Regions from separate parts of the Homo sapiens genome. Here region 2 is linked to region 1. Evidence: promoter capture Hi-C in human tissues and cell types (Jung and others, 2019). All regions are on one chromosome and are shown on one strand. Each heading gives the region's core, a stretch centred on a gene start or on the middle of the fragment in contact. The rest is flanking DNA. Distances are from core to core; before and after follow the strand shown.

Region 1 (4,470 bases), core at 1,243-3,742:
GCTCACACAACATCCACCTCTAGGACTCAAGCCAGTCTCCCACCTCAGCCTTCTGAGTAGATGGGACTACAGGCATGCACCACCCTGCCTGGCTAATTTTTGTGGGGTTTTTTGGTAGAGATGGGGTTTCACGATGTTGCCCAGGCTGGTCTCGAACACCTAGACACAAACGATCAGCCCACCACAGCCTCCCAAAGTGCTAAGATTACAGGTATGAGCCCCCATGCCCCACTGATCCCCAGCGTTGGAGGTGAAGCTTGGTTGGGGAGTGGAGAGCAAGGGGTTGGAGCTTAGTTATGGATCCCTGATGAATGGCTTGGTGCCATTCTCTAGGGTGTGAATCAATTCCCACTCTTAATTCCCAGTGGAACTCGTTTTTAAATAAAATAAAATAAAAAATAAAAAATAAATAAAGAGAGAGCAAGCTTGGAATTTCCTCCCCTCTCTCTCTTGCTCACTCTCAGGCCACATGATCTCTGCACATACTGGCTCTCCTTTGCCTCCTATCATGAATGGAATCAGCCTGAGGCCATCACCAGAAACAGATGCTGGCACCATGCTTCTTGTACAGCCTCCAGAACCATGAGCCAAATAAACCTGTTTTCTATATAAATTATCCAGCCTTGGGTATTCCTTTATAGGAACACAAACTGACTAAGACGAGCAGTGAAAAGAAACCACTGTTACAAAATACCATCGTGAATCTCAAAAACATGCTGCATGACAATAGCCAATCACAAATGAACACACACTGCTTAATTCTATGTATATGAATTCCTATAACAGACAAAACTAAAACACTTCGTCATATAAATTAGATCCCATGTTGAAGGAGCTTGACCAGAAAGGAACAGAAAGAAATGTCGGGGCTGTGGAAATGTTCTGTATCCTCACTGGGGTGGTGGTTACTCAAGTGTATGTATTTGCCAAAACTCATCAAATAATGCTTTTAAAATGGAAGCATTTTATTTCTGTAAATTATTCCTTGATTTTTTTTAAAAAGCCAACAACAAGAGAGAAGAGTTTTAAGAATAGCAAGTAAACAATGTGAAATGCCATAGGAAGGAAGACAATTCTGAGAAGTGAAAATAACTTGTTTCAATTTTTAAATTTTAGTGATTTTAGAACACTTTTATTGAATCACTTTAAAAGAGTCCTTTTTAAAAGAATGCTTTTTATTGAAAAGATGGGTAGAATCCAACATGCAAGGTATCTTAGTCGTAGTTACCTAGAATGAGAAATTCGAAGAGAAAAAGCACAGGCTTTTCATTTCAATTAGTGCATCTCAAACTTCGATGAACATAGGAATCTCCTGGCGGTCTTGTTAAAGTGCAAGTATTGATTTAGGAAATCTCGAGTGGGGCCTGAGATTCTACATTTCTAACAGGAAACCAAGTAATGTCAATGTTGTTTGTTCATCTACTACAATTTAGGTGGCAAGGACACAGATCGCTCCTGCGAGGCACAAATGCCATAACTGGAGTGCTAATTTGGCCCAGAAGTTTCCAAGATCTAGACAGTCCATTCCTAACCATCAGTTCAAGAATGCCTACATGTAGATTGACAGGCTAGCCCTCTTTCTATGTGAGTGCAACCAGAACACATACATATGATGCTGTAGAAAATAACATTGATCTTAGGTCAGTAGCCTTCGGTTCAAGTCCCAGCCTTTTTCTAACCAACTGTGATAACCTGGGTCAATTACTCGTAGGCTGCAACATGAGAGAACAGTTCCTGTTTCTCCTCTGTAGGTTACTGTGAGGACTACAATGGAAAATGTAAGTGAAAGTACTGCAAGAACCATACCCTAAAAAAAACAGAATAGCTTAAACAAAAGTCAAGCAAAGAATTTGAGAACCAAGCAGGACCTAAAAATAAGAGGTGGGGCTTCGGGATTTTTCCCGTGGGCGTTGAGGGATGTACCATATTGGGGGCAGGGGCGCCCCACAACAAATAATGTATTTGAAAAGATTCTGTATTTGAAATTATGCCTCTATCATGACACCTGAATATGAACTTTTCCTTCGTTAGATACTTCAACTGGCACTTAACTATAAGTTCAGTGACAGTATTCTGCTTCTTTCTCCTGAAGTCAAAGTGCCACCCACGCACCTCTCCCGTTCTGCCATCCACCCGCGGCTTTCCTACCCCCGCCGCCTGCGGCCCCCGCCCCGGGGCAGTAGTTTGCACTAGGCTGAAGGGAGAGGTGGAACGGATTCGTCTATCTACGCACCTCGAGGAGGGGTGTGTGAGGAGCTACGTTCCAGAGAACGGTAAGAAACTCCGGCCAGGAAACACGGGATCACAGGAGAACTCGAGGCGAAGGTGCGGCGTCGGTGCAGGAGCGGAGGGGCGGACCCACAGCAGCCCGGCGAGCGCGCAGGTGTGCCCGCGGCCGCGCCACCCTCCCCGCAGCCTTTACGGGATGGAGCCGGCGGGAGAGGGCGGGGCCAGGCGCGCGGCGGCCGCCTCTGCTGCGGCCGGAAACAATAGTGGAGGAACCCGAGCCGCACGGAACGGCGGTGGTGGCCCGCGGAGCCGGACGGTAAAGACCCCGCAGCCCTGCTCCCATCCCACCTGAGCCCCGACCCCCAGTCCCATCGTTCCGCCTCCTTCGAGTTCCGAGCCCCGTGGCCCCTCGCGCTGCTGCGCGCCAGGCGCCCCGACGGACAGACCGACGGAAAGACGGACTTGGGTCCGCGACTCCCTGGGGGCGGCCGCGCGCCCCCAACGCCGAAGGCCGGGCCAGGACCCGGCTCCCCGAGACGCTGAGGCTGGGCGGACCGGCCGCCGTGGCCCTCGGACGCTTTCTTCCCTCTGGGAGGAATCCCGGAGCGATGGGACGAGGCTCTCCCGCCCGCCGGGCTCCAGGATGCCGCGGCTCTCCCAGCTCCGGCTTGGGCCCCTCCGGCGGTGCCCGGCCGGTACCGTGAAGCCGCCGCTCGGCCTTCGGTGTAGTTGCCCCGGACACGGCGGGACGCCCTCCCCGGGTATTCGGTACCCACGTGCATTTTGCTGCCGCCGATCTCCGTTCGATGCGAAGCTTCGCAACTCCGAGTTCGCGAGGCGCATCTGAGGTTCCCCCAATGAAGTTAGCAAAGCAGTGTCCCGTGCAGGTCGTTTTTCCTGTTTCTCACAGCGTTAACTAGGTTGACAGAACCTGGTAGCTGAAAAGGCCTCGCTGCTAAGCCCTCTGATTATTCGAGGTTGGGGGACGAAGGAGGAGGACTAGAATGCCGGCAAATCTCTTTCCTTCAGGTGCCACTAACCCAATCAACTATAGGACAAAAAAGACACGGACATAGTGTCACCTATGGCCTGGCTTTAAGTTTTACTAGCTTTGTGTCTTTCCACAGGAAAAGTGCAATGTTGGAGTGCAAGTATGGCGATGCTTGTTTGATGGAGCTTTTGCTTTAAATGAGCTGAACAGCATCCTTATTTCCTAGAAGTTCCCAGTAAAGGGAACTACCCCAAAGGCAGGTTCATGAAATTGTGTAACTTTCCTTTTCTGTTTCTTAATAGGGGCACTATGAACGAAGAGGAGCAGTTTGTAAACATTGATTTGAATGATGACAACATTTGCAGTGTTTGTAAACTGGGAACAGACAAAGAAACACTCTCCTTCTGCCACATTTGTTTTGAGCTAAATATTGAGGGTAAGGACACAGTATAGTTTTGATCTTATGGAATGAATTTAACACAGCTGCTTTGTACTGATTGTAAGGTAAAACTAAAATGTCTTCAATGATTGGAAATTGTGCTAAGTATGAATAGTGTAGAGATTTGTTAAAGATAAGGTTTCTGGAAATGAAGGTGCAGTTAACAGAGTTACGAATTTAAGAGAAATCTTTTTTTTTTAAAGACCCCTGCAACAACCCCATTTTTCCTAATACAGAAATAAGTATGAGTGTTGACTGGGAAACGTGTTTTCTGGTTTGAGAGCTTATTGAATTGTCAGATTTTAACAGACCTGTGTGTTTTTTATATTAAGAAGTAACATAACAATTTTTTTATTCTTTCGAGCCTATTATGCAAGTATTTGAGTGAGATGAGCCCGAACTCTTTTCTCACCAGTATGATCTTATTATCTGGAAAAATACTTTAAAATTTTTAGATTAACCTCTTTTCAGTGATCACACACACTGTTGGTAATTTTTAAAACCTGAAAAGGTTTTTAAAATTTTTTTAATAATGTCCCTAAGATATATGAAGAAAAATTCTCCAAATCCAAAAAGAAACCCCAAAAAAAAGCCCTATTGGAAGGATTTATTTGGGTTGGTGCAGTTAGTGTTGTCATATTACAATTGATTTTTGGTTTAGATATTTATGAGTCATACTAAAAAAAACCTTAATATTCCTGCAAAAAAAATTTGGCCTGTAATTTGAGTTTTGAGTTGTAACATATCAGTAGAGAGACTTTATTAAACCTCTAGATTTTGGACAGTTTCAAAATAGTTCTTTCCTTTTTTC
Region 2 (4,470 bases), core at 1,166-3,665, 430 kb after region 1:
TGTGCTCCAGGAGCTCTTTCTATTTCCCTCTCTCTCTAAATTAAATTACATTTTTTATTTTATCTTTTATTTTATTTTTTCGAGACAGCATCTTGCCCTGTCATCCAGGTTGGAGTGCAGTGGTGCGATCATGGCTCACTGCAGTCTCTACCTCCTGGGATCAAGCGTTCCTCCCATTTCAGCCCCCTGAGTAGCTGGGATTACAGAAGGGTGCTACCATGCCTGGCTAATTTTTTTTTTTTTTTTTTTTTTGAGATGGAGCCTTAAAAGGATCTTGAGACAGGATCTTGCTCTGTCACCCAGGCTGGAGTGCAAGTGGAGTGATCTCAGCTCACTGCAACCTCTGCCTCCTGGTTCAAGTGATTCTCCTGCCCCAGTCTTCTGAGTAGCTGGGATTATAGGTGTGCACGACCACACCTGGCTAATTTTTGTATTTTTAGTAGAGACGGGGTTTCACCATGTTGGCCAGGCTGGTCTCGAACTCTTGACCTGAAGTGATCTGCCGGCCTTGACCTCCCAAAGTGGTGGGATTACAGGCGTGAGTCACCATGCCTGGCCTTTAAAAATTTTTTTTTGTAGAGACAGGGTCTCACTGTGTTGCCCAGGCTGGTCTTGAACTCCTGGGCTCAAGCAATCCTTCTGCCTTGGCCTCCCAAAGTGCTGGGATTACAGGTGTGAGCCACCATGCCCAGGCTTATTTTATTTTACTTTAGAGAAGGGGCCTTCTATGTTGTCTAGGTTGGTCTTGAACTCCTGGGATCAAGTGATCCTCCTGCCTCAGCCTGCCAAGTAGCTGGGACTACAGGTGTGCACCACCATGCCTGGCTTTGTATTTTAATTTTTATGAAGATAATCTTGTGTATAGTTAAAAAGGTCAAATAGCTTATGCTGAAAAAAAGGGCTTGCTTGTTCCACCTTTCCCATTTCATGAAAACAAAACTATACCTAAGAGGCAATACCACACTTAACACTTTTATTTATTTTCCTACATTTTAAAAGTAATACACTTTTACTTCTATTTTTTGATTTTCTGTTTTAGATGTCATCTATTTATTTCCTAGTATAGAATATAAAATTTATTATGTTTTATGCCTGTCTACCTTCCCCAACATACTCCTCCCATTTCTCCCCTTTGCCAATATATTTAGTCACAATTTTTTGGGTAAGTCAACATCTAGAGTTTACCTTATTGTTTTATGTGTAATTATTTTCAGAGATGAGTCACGCAGTGGTTGGACAACAATTCTTCATGGGTCATTTATATTTCTGCACATTTTAAGGGCACAGGTAGTGACAGGTTTTGTTCCAGACTGCGATTTCCAGGATATAAATATAGTGAATAGCCTTGGACTATAGAGACAGCATCTCCCTCCAGAGCAGATGACAGGTGTGTTTGCTATCCAGTATGGTAAAGATAATGTCTTCCACGGGGCCAAAAGTCATGTAGGTTTGCTTTCAACCCATTATAAAAGACTGAGGTTCCCCAAGCTCAGGGTTTTTTAGCTGTGATACAAACCCACTGCATATGCAGCATCTGCCTTGGATACTCTTTGTCACCACCATGGGAACTGGAGGGCAAGGGGAACCAGAGTGACCATAAAGCTCATATTGCTTACTGTTTTGTGAGTAATAAAATCCTTTGCCTCTGACCTGGGAGTCTCAGGTCTTTCCCCAGCATCCATGAAACTATGGCAGGCTAACTTGTTGGCTTGCAAATAAGATGAAGTCTCAGACCATTCCCAGTTCTTTATCGTAGTAAACTCTGGCTTCATTTCCTTTCTTGTACTTTCCTTGTACTTATACTTCTCAGGCTTAATATTTTGTGTGTGTGTGTGTGTGTGTGTGTGTGTGTGTGTGTGTGTGTGTTTTCTTTGCTAAGTTTGTACATCCTGATGAGATACAGTGGGAAAAGCATAGCATAGTTTCCGTAATATTCCTGTGAAGGATACCTGTCCTGTGTCTGCTCCCGAGAAACACTGTGATGGTCATTACATGGAATATGAAGCTTTTACTCTTTATTTTAATTCAATTTTATTTTTTTGAGATGGAGTCTCGCTCTGTCACCAGGTTGGAGTGCAGTGGCACGATCTCGGCTCACTGCAACCTCTGCCTCATCGGCTCAAGGGATTCTCATGCCTCAGCCTCCTGAGTAGCTGGGACTACAGGCACGCCCCACCACACCCAGCTAGTTTTTTTGTATTTTTAGTAGAGATGGGGTTTCACCGTGTTGGCCAGGATGGTCTCGATCACTTGAGCTCGTGATCCGCCCGCCTTAGCCTCCCAAAGTTCTGGGATTACAGGCATGAGCCACTGCACCAGGCCGCTTTTACTCTTTAAAAATGGTTAAGGACATCAAAGGCAGAATTATTGTTTTAAGCTGAATGAATATGATGAGACATAAGAACTACATGCAACATATATTCCTTGGAACAATCCTGAACCAGAAAGGAAAAAGAGAGAGTTTTGGACAGTTGGCAAAATTTGAATGGGAGAGTTTTCTTGTTTTGGGGAAATACACACTGGATTATTTAGGGATAATGGGACATCGTGTCTGAAGCTTTCTCTTAAAAAGTTCAGAGTATGACTAATGATAATGGATCACTTCCTCTCCCTACATATACACAGAGAGACGGGGTTGGTGTCCATGCATATTCAGAAAAATGTTAATGTTTGGACAATCTGAATGAAAGGGATACAAGAATTCTTTGTTCTGATCTGAAAGTTTTTATGTAAGTTATTTTAAAATAAATTATTTTTTATAAAGAGTGGCAGTAAATCCTGATTAGAAGTTCCATATTCAGGCAGGGCGCGGTGGCTCACTCCTGTAATCCCAGCACTTTGGGAGGCCGAGGTGGGCGGATCACGAGGTCAGGAGATCGAGACCATCCTGGCTAACATGGTGAAACCCTGTCTCTACTAAAAATACAAAAAATTAGCTGGGCTTGGTGGCGGGCACCTGTAGTCTCAGCTACTGGGGAGGCTGAGGCAGGAGAATGGCGTGAACCCGGGAGGCGGAGCTTGCAGTGAGCTGAGATTGCGCCACTGCACACCAGCCTGGGAGACAGAGTGAGACTCCATCAAAAAAAAAAAAAAAAAAAAAAAAAAAAGAAGTCCCATGTTCCTGTGAAGCTTATCAAGTGTGTCAGGTTTTACTGTAGAGAGCTCAGGCAGGAGCTGGCTGTCTTGGGGGATTCTTGGCTGTCGGTATTCATAGGGCTAGACAGTTTCCCTAAAGGACATTTTCATTATCTCCTATGATGGAGTATAAGTCTAACAGTCATTGTTCTGAGGGCCTACTACCAGAAGGGAACTAGAAATCTCACTCTTCTGAAAATAGACTGATTGAACATCTATGTTATCCAATGAACGTCTATGTTATTAATAAGAAACCTACCATCTTTTGTGACATGTAGTCACCTGCCTGCATGGACGGTGGGAGGAGACTGAAGAGTCTGTTACCTCCTTTTTCAGACTTTTAACAAATTCTTCTGTTTTCAGCCCTACTTGCAAACTTAACACCTTCAGAGGCCCCTGGTTCCTCTATTGATAGAAGTTTTCTGAGTTCATGAATCAACTTTCTTCTAGTTGTTTTTTTCTTTTTCAGGTACTCAGCAGAGCAGAGATATATGAGTCCAAAGCCATTTACCAAAGGTTATAAGCTTTTCATTTTGTGTACAATAATCATCTTTTTTTGGTGTACAGTAATCATCTTCTATAATCACCTTTTCTGTTCTCCTCATTTTTGTGGAATTATGCCCTTTCACATCATTTTTGTTATTTTAGTGGGGTTTCAGGAAGGAGTAAGAGAAATGTGTGTGTGTGTTTCCTATCACTTGCAATTAACAGGAAGATCTTTCATTACCTGAGCTTGTTTTTTATCGAAGATTAACTCCCTATGGGTCAGGAAGTAGACATACTGTGTAATCATTTGGCACAGACTCCAGGCTAACACTAAAATATTATTATATTGGGAAATGAGAATAAAGAGAACATTTTTTAATATAAAAAGGAAATGATTATTTCTTGGATGATAATTTTTTTTCAAACTGAACCTTTGATTTGTATTTTTTTATTCTTGGATTACTTTTTCTTCATAGTCCATCCATTGTTCAATTAAAATGGGCAAAGGAAAGAGGTCCAGCCCTTAGAATATTTTTATATTAAATAAATACTTATAAAGTAATAAAATTTTCATTTTGTTTCCATACTATGAATAGAAATAGCCTCCTTTATAATATCCCCAGAGTATGAATAATAGAGAAATTATTGATGTATTTAGAAAGACTTCTTTAAACATACTCTACATTTTTATCTCTGAGAAAAAGATAATTAAGCTTATGATTCCCAAATTGTGCACTGAGGCACCCCAAGAAGTTGCAGTGACCTCACAGGGGCCACACGACATATTGAAAATTCTCAAGAAAAACACAGAAACATTTGTTGGCTGCTGCATGAACTACTGGCTCAAAA

The links. The method cuts DNA at HindIII sites, captures the fragments that hold promoters and counts their contacts. A contact is called where the count stands out against the background at its distance.
Region 2: a contact is called between a fragment that was not itself captured here and the fragment with the promoter of C21orf91 in region 1, in 2 of the 25 tissues and cell types used here (dorsolateral prefrontal cortex and hippocampus).

What each region holds. Positions count from the first base shown.
Region 1 is chr21:17,817,378-17,821,847 of GRCh38, reverse strand. It overlaps C21orf91 (chromosome 21 open reading frame 91), which reads left to right and starts at 2,492. Exons shown (of 5, transcript NM_001100420.2): 1 at 2,492-2,545; 2 at 3,523-3,656. The coding sequence starts at 3,530. All of the region lies in intron 2 of LOC124900465 (a long non-coding RNA gene), which reads right to left. RefSeq lists an enhancer at 1,798-1,847 and a silencer at 2,098-2,877. The HindIII fragment of the contact is 15,791 bases long and covers 1-4,470 here.
Region 2 is chr21:17,388,904-17,393,373 of GRCh38, reverse strand. No RefSeq gene overlaps it. Among named protein-coding and RNA genes, the nearest start is that of LINC01549, 48 kb to the left of the region's middle. The HindIII fragment of the contact is 3,165 bases long and covers 833-3,997 here.